Regions from separate parts of the Homo sapiens genome. Here region 1 is linked to region 2. The links are contacts of gene promoters, found by promoter capture Hi-C in blood cells and fetal thymus (Javierre and others, 2016). All regions are on one chromosome and are shown on one strand. The core of a region is centred on a gene start or on the middle of the fragment in contact, and the rest is flanking DNA. Distances in the headings are between cores, read along the strand shown.

The links. The method cuts DNA at HindIII sites, captures the fragments that hold promoters and counts their contacts. A CHiCAGO score of 5 or more calls a contact.
Region 1: a contact is called between a fragment that was not itself captured here and the fragment with the promoter of MCM6 in region 2, in 2 of 17 cell types (fetal thymus and erythroblasts). The highest score is 6.6, in fetal thymus.

The regions. Positions count from the first base shown.
Region 1 is chr2:134,948,769-134,954,976 of GRCh38, forward strand. CCNT2 (cyclin T2) reads left to right here. Exons shown (of 9, transcript NM_058241.3): 8 at 3,873-3,943; 9 at 4,462-6,208. The coding sequence ends at 5,880. Among named protein-coding and RNA genes, the nearest start is that of CCNT2, 33 kb to the left of the region's middle. The HindIII fragment of the contact is 338 bases long and covers 2,140-2,477 here.
Region 2 is chr2:135,872,792-135,879,394 of GRCh38, forward strand. MCM6 (minichromosome maintenance complex component 6) reads right to left here and starts at 3,652. Exons shown (of 17, transcript NM_005915.6): 1 at 3,468-3,652; 2 at 1-52. The coding sequence starts at 3,574. RefSeq lists enhancers at 2,742-3,277, 3,047-3,176, 3,867-3,926 and a silencer at 3,247-3,406. The HindIII fragment of the contact is 12,304 bases long and covers 1-6,576 here.

The sequences.
Region 1 (6,208 bases), core at 1,059-3,558, 930 kb before region 2:
CAGTGGTGCAATCTTGGCTCACCGCAACCTCCACCTCCCGAGTTCAAGCAATTCTCCTGCCTCAGCCTCCCAAGTCGCTGGGACTGCAGGCACGAGCCACCACACCCAACTAGTTTTTGTGTTTTTAGTAGAGATGGGGTTTCACCATGTTGGCCAGGCTGGTCTCAAACTCCTCACCTCAGATGATCTGCCCACCTTGTCCTCCCAAAGTGCTGGGATTACAGGCTTGAGCCACTGTGCCTGGCCTTGTTTTGTGTTGTTTTGTTTTTTGAGACAGATACTCACTCTGCCCCCCAAGCTGGAGCGCAGTGGTGCAACCTGGGCTCACTGCAACCTCTGCCTCCCAGGTTCAAGCGATTCTCCTGCCTCAGCCTCCTGAGGAGCTGGGACCATAGGCGCATGCCACCACGCCCAGCTAAGTTTTGTATTTTTAGTAGAGATGGGGTTTTGCAGTCCACCTGTCTTAGCCTCCCAAAGGGCTGGGATTACAGGTTTGAGCCTCTGTGCCCCACCTGATGTTTCTTTAAGATAGGGGTCTGCAAAGAGTAACACTATTTTAGAGTTTGTGAACTATAAGGTCTCTGTTGCAACTATACAACTATACCATTGCAGCCAGAAAGCAGCCATAGGCAATTTGTAACTGATTGGGTGTGACTGTGTTCCAGTAAAACTTTTGTTGACAAAAATAGGTGGCCAGCCATATTTGGCCAATTATCCATAGTTTGCCTGTTCTTATTTGTGAAATATGCTTCTTTGTTTCATCCTTTTCTATTTTGTTTTCCACCTGGAAAAAATTATCCCAGAATATATATCTCATGCTGTATTATTGCTGCATGATTATAATGTTTTTCTTAAATTGTTAGAGGCTTTTTCAGAGTTTATCCAGAGGAAAGGAAGTCTTCAATGAGTTGAAATGACATCTAAAACTCAGTGAGGGCTTATCTGTTCTATAGCTTGAAAAATCAGGTTATCTAGGTCATTGTTTTAGTTTAATAGTCACTAGATTAAGATTAGGTAGGCAAAATTTTTTTTTCGGGGGGGGGGTGGGGGACAGAGTCTCAGTCGCCCAGGCTATAGAGTGCGGTGGCGCAATCTCGGCTCGCTGCACCCTCCGCCTCCCGGGTTCAAGCAGTTCTCTGCCTCAGCCTCCTGAGTAGCTGGGATTACAGGTGCCTGCCACCACGCCTGGCTAATTTTTGTATTTTTAGTAGAGATAGGGTTTTCACCATGTTGGCCAGGCTGGTCTTGAACTCCTGACCTCATGATCCACCCACCTTGGCCTCAAAGTGTTAGGATTACAGGCGTGAACCACCACACCCAGCCAGTAGGCATAATCGTAATAAAAATAGTTTATATACCTGGTGCTGAAGTAAAAAGATCACAGAAAAGTAATCTGCCTTTTATCCTGTCTTTAGGTCAGAGGTTAGGTTGTGGTTTATGTGGGGTTTTTTGACACAGGAGGAGCTACCTCATTTCCATTCTGAAAAGTAAAGTTTGTTAATTTGGAGAGCAATTGAATAGGAATCTTGGAGAACTGATATGTTAAGACTTTCACCATGTTTTGCAGCAGCTTTTTTTTCTGTGTCAGTCACAAAAAGGCAATTCAAAATTAAAGACATGAAGGTGTGGCCGGGTGCAGTCACTCACATATCTTGAGCACAGGAGTTTGAGCCCAGCCTGAGCAACATGGCAAAACCACGTTTCTACTAAAAATACACACAAACCGGGCATGGTGGCGCACTCCTATAGACCCAACTACTGTGGAGGCTAAGGTGGGAGGATCACCTGAGCCTGAGACGTCAAGGTTGTAGTGAGCTGTGATAATGCTACTGCTCTCCAGCCTGGGCAACAGAGGAAACCCTGTCTGGGGGGAAAAAAAAAGACATGAAGATTTATCTGAATTGTAGAGTGAAGTGATACTACTATTCTTATTACTTACTGAAATAATTCACTTAATGATTGTGTTCCAGAAAAGAACATTGGCTTAGACAGTAGCTTTGAGAGAGAAGGGCCTCTATTTTAGGCACATACTGTGATTTTTGTGCATATAGCTAATTAATTATGTTAATGGATTATTTAACAGATTCTTTTGTTGTTCTGCTATAAAATTTAATACAGTAGGATACTTAAGAAAAACAAAGCTTACATTTTGTGTACGAGATTTTGGACCAGAACTTGAAGTGTATTTAATGTTTTACAACCAAGTTGTTAACAGAAATTGAGTCAAAACAGTTTTGTTAATGTTGGACCCAAAAGTAGAAAAATAGTCTTTTTTTTTTTCTTTTTTTTTCAAATGAGGAAGTAAAGGTCTGGGCATTAGGGTTTTTTTCATCCAAACTGGATGAAAAAGCTCATGAGACTTTAGCAGGGACTAGTCATGACATTGTCAAGGAAATTACATCTTGAAAGATTAATGGTTAAATTATAGCTTGTCTGAAGTGTCGATCTTAACATTGGCTTAGAATAGTTTACAAAAAAGCTTGCTATTACAAAATGAACCTGTAGTCTCTATTAATAGAGGTTCCCCCAGTATTGAGGTGGAATTGGCATTATTAATATTATATAATATTCTGATGTATTTGACTGATGAATATTTGAGAGTGGCTAGTAACTATTAATGACATTATTAGTTCATCAAAACCACACTACTTTGGAAAAGTGGGTCATTTGATTGTAATCAGAATTTTAAGAAAGTTGGTAGAAATTTACAATGAAGATAGTTTGCTAATATATTAATAGTGTTGATAGCTAGGAAGTATATTTGGAGGAATTTTCCCCTTTAAAAAAAAAGTCTGGGTGTGGTGGCTCACACCTGTAATTCCAGCACTTTGGGAGGCCAAGATAGGAGGATCACTTGAGGCCAGGAGTTTGAGACCAGCCTGGTCAACATAGCGAGACCCTGTCTCTGTTATTTAACAAAAAAAAGAAAGAAAGAAATGCAAAATATTGCATAGTTCCCTGTATACCCTTTAGCTTCTCCTGGTACTAACATCTTACATAACAATATATGATTATCAAAACTAGGAAGTTAACATTGGTACAATACTGTTAACTAAACCACAGATGTTATTCAGTATTCCATATTTTTCCCTATTCTAGGATCCCATGTTCCATTTAGTTGACATGTCCCTTCAAGTCTTCTCCAGTCTGTGACAGTTCTCCAATCTTTCCTTGTCTTTCATAACACTGACACTTAGGAGAATAATGGTCATTTTATACAGTGTTCCTTAGTTGGGGTTTGTCTGATGATTTCTCATTATTATGTCGAAGTTATCCATTTTGAGCAAGAATACCATAGAAGTAAATTGGGTCTTGCTTGGTGCATCATATCAAGGGGTACAGTATGTTGATACGTCTTATAACTGGTCATGACAACCGTGATCACTTGGTTACAGTGGTATCCTTAAAGTGGTTTCTGCACTTTAAAGTCACTATTTTTTTTCTCTTTGTAATTAATACATTTCATGGGGAAGATACGTTGGGATTATACAAATAACGTTTTTCCTCAAACTTTTGTCCACTAATTTTAAAGAATCTTTTGATAGATCTTGTCTGTGACAAAAATTATTGTGGTGTTTGCCTAATGAAGATTTTTTTTTTATTGGGGGGGTGATTATTTTTAATGCTACTAGATTTTCTAGAGATTCTAATTAAGCAAGTAAAATCAAGAGGGAAAGTAATCGTTACAAAAGGATTCAGCTTTGAAAATGCCGGTTGAGAGTTGTGTGTACTTCTGTGTATGCTGAGGATTTAATAGGAGGGTAAAAGTGAAGTAGATGAACTCCTAGCATTCCTTTTTAATACTGCCCACTTAAGAGAAATTTAAATCCTAAAGGCACCTTCTAAGTTTCAAATTTAAATTTTATTTTTAGAGCTAACACATGAGTTTCTACAAATATTGGAGAAAACGCCTAATAGGTTGAAGAAGATTCGAAACTGGAGGGTAAGAGAATTGACAGGGTTTAACAGAATTTCAGTCTTTTATGTAACATTTACATAGCTAACCAGTTTGAATTTTTGTGGTTAAATAATCTTTGCAGTATTCCTGAATAATTCAACGTATCTCAAGTTACATATACTCACATATTCAACTACTGAGTCCAGTGGACTTTGCTAAAGTACATTATACTTTTAAAAAATTTTTTGCAGTGATTATGACAAAAGTATCCTCTTCATTTTACAAATGGGGAAACTGAAGCCTAGACAAGTTAAATTACTTTCTGAAGTGCTGGGCTAGGATTTAACTTGTATCTGATTCTAAAATGGGTGTTTTCAATTTTTTATAGCCTTTTATGCCTCTAAGGCATTTATTTACTGACAACATAAAATCTTGAACCCCAGGTCATTTTATTTCCATATGTTTAATATATAATGTTTTTAATATATAACTTTTATAAGACAAGAAATTTGCATTAAATTATTTTGCTATATCACTGCTTCTTCTGTGTTTTATTTTAATAGGCTAATCAGGCAGCTAGGAAACCAAAAGTAGATGGACAGGTATCAGAGACACCACTTCTTGGTTCATCTTTGGTCCAGAATTCCATTTTAGTAGATAGTGTCACTGGTGTGCCTACAAACCCAAGTTTTCAGAAACCATCTACATCAGCATTCCCTGCGCCAGTACCTCTAAATTCAGGAAATATTTCTGTTCAAGACAGCCATACATCTGATAATTTGTCAATGCTAGCAACAGGAATGCCAAGTACTTCATACGGTTTATCATCACACCAGGAATGGCCTCAACATCAAGACTCAGCAAGGACAGAACAGCTATATTCACAGAAACAGGAGACATCTTTGTCTGGTAGCCAGTACAACATCAACTTCCAGCAGGGACCTTCTATATCACTGCATTCAGGATTACATCACAGACCTGACAAAATTTCAGATCATTCTTCTGTTAAGCAAGAATATACTCATAAAGCAGGGAGCAGTAAACACCATGGGCCAATTTCCACTACTCCAGGAATAATTCCTCAGAAAATGTCTTTAGATAAATATAGAGAAAAGCGTAAACTAGAAACTCTTGATCTCGATGTAAGGGATCATTATATAGCTGCCCAGGTAGAACAGCAGCACAAACAAGGGCAGTCACAGGCAGCCAGCAGCAGTTCTGTTACTTCTCCCATTAAAATGAAAATACCTATCGCAAATACTGAAAAATACATGGCAGACAAAAAGGAAAAGAGTGGGTCACTGAAATTACGGATTCCAATACCACCCACTGATAAAAGCGCCAGTAAAGAAGAACTGAAAATGAAAATAAAAGTTTCTTCTTCAGAAAGACACAGCTCTTCTGATGAAGGCAGTGGGAAGAGCAAACATTCAAGCCCACATATTAGCAGAGACCATAAGGAGAAGCACAAGGAGCATCCTTCAAGCCGCCACCACACCAGCAGCCACAAGCATTCCCACTCGCATAGTGGCAGCAGCAGCGGTGGCAGTAAACACAGTGCCGACGGAATACCACCCACTGTTCTGAGGAGTCCTGTTGGCCTGAGCAGTGATGGCATTTCCTCTAGCTCCAGCTCTTCAAGGAAGAGGCTGCATGTCAATGATGCATCTCACAACCACCACTCCAAAATGAGCAAAAGTTCCAAAAGTTCAGGTAGTTCATCTAGTTCTTCCTCCTCTGTTAAGCAGTATATATCCTCTCACAACTCTGTTTTTAACCATCCCTTACCCCCTCCTCCCCCTGTCACATACCAGGTGGGCTACGGACATCTCAGCACCCTCGTGAAACTGGACAAGAAGCCAGTGGAGACCAACGGTCCTGATGCCAATCACGAGTACAGTACAAGCAGCCAGCATATGGACTACAAAGACACATTCGACATGCTGGACTCACTGTTAAGTGCCCAAGGAATGAACATGTAATAATTTGTTTAGGTCAATTTTTCCTTTACTTTTTTAATTTAAAAATTGTTAGAATGGAAAAATTCCTTCTGATCTAGCAGTGGTAACCCCTGCTGTTGCTGCCACTGCTTCAATATTTGTAAGTGCTGCTTTATTCTTCATTCTGAAAAGAAGAGATTATAGTAAACAAGTCTTTATCTCCACATATGATAGTGTTATAAATACTGTAAAAGCATGGAAGGTGCAAAACTCAGTATTTCTACAATTGCAGCTAAGAACATTAGGATGAATGGCTGGCTGCTTCTAGGAATATAAGATGCCTCAAGCATTCATTATTTATGATTTGAAT
Region 2 (6,603 bases), core at 2,402-4,901:
CAGTTCCTCTGCTAATTGCAAGTATTTAATTTCTCCATCGCTGCTCTGAAACCTGCAGGTACATTCGAGTCAACTAGATTAAGGACACAGGCAGTACAAAGAACCTGAATGATAATTCAGAACATTGGTTAAAGTCCAACAACTAGGCTCAGACAGGCCCATGTTTGGCAGTTCTGTAACTTGGGGCAAGTTACTCCTCCCTTCTGATATGGTTTGGCTGTGTCCCCACCCAAATCTCGACTTGAATTTCCACATGTTGTGGGAGGCACCTGGTGGGAGTTAATTGAAGCATGGGGACAAGTCTTTCCCCTGCTGTTCTCTGATAGTAAGTCTCACGAGATCTGATGGTTTTAAAAAGAGGAGTTCCTCTGCACAAGCTCTCTTTGCCTGATGCCATCCACGTAAGACATCAGTGACTTGCTCCTCCTTGCCTTCCACCATGATTGTGAGGTTTAACTGCTAACTAACAAAAAAACCCAACAACTAACTCTTCTTTTACTACTGTCATGTATAATTAAGATTGGAAAATGTTAAATCAAGAAATTCAGTCTCAAACCCAATGATTCCATTTCTGTAGGGAATTTGCAAACTAACAAATTAGTCAGGGATTTAAGAAGCAGAACAGAAATAAGAATACATGGAAATGAGGTGTTTCACAGCCCAAGACTTCGGGAAAATTGAAACAGGCACACTAAATAAAGCTGCTGGTATTTTTGCTTCTAAAGCCCAAGCAGGATATCATACAAATTTATTTCTGTTCTTTCAAACATAATATGCAGATTCGCCTTAAGAAAAAATCAATTTCTCCTCCATATACAGCATGTTCTGACTCCTTAAAATATTTGTTAAACAACTACGTGCAAAGCCCTATAACAGAGGTACCTGAGGCTGAAAATGGCAGTGTTGTTCCTGCCCTAGGGTTAACTAACACTTTGTCTGCGTCTAGGGAGTTAGACATGTAAGCAATGAAGACAGACAAGAAAGATGTTCCTGTTAATGAGAAGAACAAGAAATGTGCTAGGGGAATAGAAACTAATTCTGCCTAAAAAAACAACTACAAGTTATACATATAAAAGGTGGCGTTGGAATTCAGCTTCTGAAAGAGTTAAAAATTTCAAATAAAAACAGGTGGTGAAGTGACTGACTAGATGATTCCAAGAATGTGATTAAGTCAGAGAAGGTAGGGGAGAAGTGTGGATGATGACTGGGGTGTTTTTGTAAGACAAACAGGAAAGAGGAGTGATGAAGAATTTGAACTTTATTCCACAAGCAATGGTGAATTAAAGTTTATTTTGTGACAGGGAGTTGGCATTTCTTTAAACAAAGCACAGAGATTATTTGTCTCATCATTATCATCTAGCTGCAAAGTCAAGGCACTTAGATTATTTGTTGAAATGAAACGTTTATTGAAAAACCTTTGTAATGTGATGTGGTGGGTAGGTGGGGTTGAGGATGGAATTTGAATTCCAGACTAAGTAGCTAGGAGGTAAATGTGTTACACTGCCAGAGATAATGAAAAACAAACAGCACCCTGGGAGCCTAAGGAAGAAAGGATTAGTGCCTCTCAAAAAGGTGTACAAGGTTTCACAAAGGTGTGAGTTTTTAGCTGGGCTTTGAAGGAGGAACTATCAGGCAGACAATAACATTGCCATAGGTAGTGAAATGGAAATTAAATTATGGTTTTAAGTATACCAAAATTTCCTAAGAAGGCAGCATTATTCACAATAGCCAAAAGGTGGAATGAACCTCATTATTCACAATAGACAAAAGGTGGAATGAACCTGTGTCCACTGAATGGATAAGCAAAATGCAGTATATATACAGGTTGAGCAGCCCTCATCTGAAAATTTAAAATATGAAATGGTCCAAAATCTGAAACTTTTTGAGTGCTGACATGATTTTCACTGGAGCATTTCAAATTAGGGATGCAATTGGTTAAGTATAATGTAAACATTCCAAATCTGAAAAAAAAATCCAAGATCCCAAACTCTTCTGGTCCCAAGCGTTTCAGAAAAGGGATACTCAATGTGTACAGACAATGTTATTTAGCCTTAAAAAGTAAGGAAATTCTGACACATGCTACCTCGCAGAGGAACCTTGTAGACATTATGTTACACAAGCCAGACACAAAAGGACAAATACTACACGCTTCCACTTATATGAGGTACCTAGAGTGGTCAAACTCATAATGAAAGGAAGCAGAGTGGTGGGTGACGGTGGCTGAGGGAGAGGGTAACGGAGGAGAGTTCGTGTTTAATGGGCACAGAATGTCAGTTTGGAAGATGAAAAGAGTTTGGAGCCGGACACGGTGGCTCACGCCTGTAATCACTTTGGGAAGCCCAGGCGGGGGGATCACCTGAGGTCGGGAGTTCAAGACCAGCCTGACCAACATGGAGAAACCCCATCTCTACTAAAATACCAAATTAGCCGGGCGTGGTGGCGCATGCCTGTAATTCCAGCTAGTAGGGAGGCTGAGGCAGGAGAATAGCTTGAACCCGGGAGACGGAGGTTGCGGTGAGCTGAGATGGTGACACTGCACTCCGGCCTGGGCAACAAGGGCTAAATTACGCCTCAAAAAAAAAAAAGTTTGGAGATGGGAGAGTGGTGACGGCTGCACAACGAGGTGAATGCACTTAGTGCCACTGGACTCTACACTTAAAAATGGCTAAAATGGTCAACTTTGTTATGTATATTTTACTAAAAAAGAACTTCAAAAGCCATTCCAAACTGCTGACCCTTCATCCTGGAGGCCGTGGTGTATCTGCTCCAGGAAAAATAACCGGTGGGTGAGGCAAGCCAGGGAGGAGGTTGGGGTTATGAAGCTAGGAGCCCAGAGGCACAGAAAAAAAGAAGAGTAGAGAAAGGAAAGGAAGGCCAGAGGGAAAGGGGAGCAAGGGACCCAGAAGAAGGGATATGGTGAGCTACTCTCTGCAGGGCAGGGCTCCGCCCCCCAGCAGCTTTCAAACCACAGTTGACGCAGAAACTTTCATCAGCACAAGAGGCGAGGGTGGCCCGTGCCCTGCGAACCCCCAGCACCATGCTCCCGGCTGCGTGGCCCAGCAGGGCACCGACGAGATTCAATGGCACTTCGGCCTCCCACTCGACCTGGCCGCACCCAGCGGCCCAGTTACTATACTCAGCGAGCCCAGGTTTCCGCGCCGGTCACCGAGGGCTGTGCAAATACCAGGCTCGCGGGGTGGTGAGCATCAAGTGACAGAAGCAAAGCGCTGAGCACTGGGCACGAGCGTCTTAGGGCTCGAGATGGGTTTTACTCCAGAAAAACCCAGCCTGTCCCAGGCTCCTCGCGGCCGCCGGGCTCGGAGCCTAAAGTTGGGGGGCGGGCGGGGAGGCGCTTCCCGGACGCGCGACCCCCAGGTTCCGGAACACCCGCCGCCCACACGGCACCGCCTGGCCCAGACGCCGCAGGCTCCGGAGGCGGGCGAGGCCCGGGGCGCTCGCCGACTTACTCCTCCAAGAAGTCCAGGAACAGTTTCTGGCACTTCTCGGCCACCTCGTCGCGGACCTCCAGGTGCTGGCTGCCGGCGCCCGGCTCCGCTGCCGCCGCGAGGTCCATATTTGCTTAGTGCCGAGGATTCGCCTGCGCCACGCTCGACCGCCACAAGTCGCTTTTTTCCAGACGCTGCAGCTTTGCGCGCGCCGCCGCCGCTTCCGCCCCGCCCCCTCTTCCGACCTGCACGGCCGGAACCAATCGTGACACAGGAGCTGGAGATTTCGCGCCAAACCTGACCAATGAACGGCGCCTCTCCAAGAGCCCCAGCCCACGGAAAGGGATTTCGCGCCAAATGCAAAGCCCTTCTGGAGAAAGCCCATCTGCCTTTGCGCCTGCGCAGTGTAGCCGTGGCCCGCGGGTATTTTTGGCTGCTGGAACAAGTTCGAATCTGAGGGTTTTGTCCGAGTGGTTTTTCAAATGTTCTTTAAATCATTCCACTGATATTAATTGAACGATCGGAGTAAGACTCTATGGAAGAGAAAAATGAGTAAGCCGCTTCTGCTGTCTAGTTAGAGGAAATAATGGAAACCACAGTATAAAACCCTGTAAAAGAGTCAAAGAGATGTCTAAACCTTGCATGGGTAAGGTGGCACAATTATTGTGGTGGTGCTGACCGAGGAAAATCAGCGAAATATTTGACATTGGCCGGGCGCGGTGGCTCACAACCTGTAATCCTAGCACTTTGGGAGGCCGAGGCGTGTGGATCACCTGAGGTCAGGAGTTCGAGACCACCCTGGCCAACATGCAGAAACCCCATCTCCCCTAAAAATACAAAAATTAGTCGGGCGTGGTGGTGCACGCCTGTAATCCCAGCTACTCGGGTGGCCGAGGCAGGAGAATCGCTTGAACCTGGGAGGAGGAGGTTGCAGTGGGCCGAGATCGTGTCACTGCACTCCAGCCTGGGCAACACAGTGTGACTCCGTCTCAAAAAAAAAAAAAAAAAAAAGAAAGAAAAAGAAAAAGAAAGAAATATTTGACACTTTGATTAATCTTTTTTTCTTTTTCTTTTCTTTTTTTTTTCAGATGAAGTCTCACCCAGTCGCTCAGGCTCGAGAGCAGTGGCGCGATCTCGGGTCACTGCAACCTCCAGCTCCCGGGTCCAGGGGATTCTCCTGCCTCAGCCTCCTGAATAGCTGGGATTGTAGGCGCCCGCTACCATGCCCAGCCAATTTTTGTATTTTTAGTAGAGACAGGGTTTTCGCCATGTTGGCCAGGCTGCTCTCAAACTCCTGACCTCAGGTGATCCGTCTGCCTCGACCTCCCAAAGCGCTGGGATTACGGCCGTGAGCCACAGCGCCCGGCCTTAATACCCTTCTTAAAATGCACTATTGGCTTGAGTTATCCTTATGTTTTTTTCCCCCATCTTTCCCTAACCATTTCACTTGGTTTTTCTGCCATCTCTTTGGCCATTCCTGATTAGCATCCTTTGTAGGCGCCTCTCCTTCAGTGAGTCTTTTAAATGTTCTGGTTCCAGAGCCTTCTTTTCCCGTAAAGTCGCTCTCTTGGGCGACCCTTTACACTCCCTTGGCGTTAATTAACATCTGGGTACTGATGATATCTATATGTGTATTTCACCAACCAGTACCTTTTTTTGGCCTCCAAGACATTAAGAGAAACGGGGACCACTTCCATTTTTTGAGGCTTGTTGCATATTAAAAATATTTTTTCTTTCTTTTCTTTTTTTGAGACGAGGTCTTACTATGTTGTGCAGGCTGACCTTGAACACCTGGTCTCCAGCAATCTGCCTGCATCCGCCTCCCGAGTAGCTGGGATTTCCTGCCACCACCAAATCCAACTTATTGAAAAATTTTTTCTTTTTCTTTTTTTTCTTTCTTTTCTTTCTTTCTTTCTTTCTTTTTTTTTTGGAGACAGAGTCTCGCTCTGTCATTAGGCTGGAGTGCAGTGGCAGGATCTCGGATCACTGCAGCCTCTGCCTCCCAGGTTCAAGCAATTCTTCTGCCTCAGCCTCCTGAGTAGCTGGGACTACAGGCGCACACCGCCACGCCCGGCTGATTTTTTTTGTTTTTGTTTTTTTGTTTTTGTATGTTAGTATAGACGGGGTTTCACCATGTTGCCCAGGCTGGTCTCAAACTCCTGAGCTCAGGCAATTCGCCCACCTCGGCCTCCCAAAGTGCTAGGATTACAGGCGTGAGCTACCGCGCCCGGCCTGAAAAGATTTTAAAATGCCAAACAGAGTGGACAGAAGCTCAAGTAATTATTTTAACATACGTACAAATACACTATTCACAAGATATTTACAGAGTTTAACAAAAAAGCTCAATGCTGGCGTGTTGCAGTGTATCTGTAATCGTATGTATTACCTCATTTGAAAATGAACACTCGGCCGGGCACGGTGGCTCACGCCTGTAATCCCAGCACCTTGGGAGGCCGAGATGAGCGGATCACGAGGTCAGGAGATCAAGACCATCCTGGTTAACACGGCGAAACCCCATCTCTACTAAAAATACAAAAAAATTAGCCAGGCATGGTGGGGGGCGCCTGTAGTCCCAGCTACTCGGAAAGCTGAGGCAGGAGAATGGCCTGAACTTGGGAGGCGGAGCTTGTAGTGAGCCGAGATCGTGCCACTGCACTCCAGCCTGGGCGACAGAGTGAGACTCCTTCTCAAAAAAAAAAAAAAAAAAAAAAAAAAAACCCGAAAATGAACACTCAGCCGGGCGCGGTGGCTCATGCCTGTAATCCTAGAACTTTGGGAGGCCAAGGTGGGTGGATCACTTGAGGTCAGGAGCTCCAGACCAGCCTGGCCAATATGGTGAAACCCCATCTCTACTAAAAATACAGAAATTAGCCGGGCGTGGTGGTCGGTGCCTGTAGTCCCAGCTACTCAGGAGGCTGAGGCAGAGAATTGCTTGAACCCAGGAGGCAGAGGTTGCAGTGAGCCGAGATCGCACCACTGCACTCCAACCTTGGCGACAGAGCAAGACTCTGTCTCAAAAAAAGTAGAAAAGAAAAGAAAATGAACACTTGAGGCTCTGTGTCCTACAGCCCTTTACCAGCTCTAGAGTCTGCCTGCCTACCGGACATCACCACTTGTACATATTTTAGGAAGCTTGAACTCAACAGTGCTTCCTGGA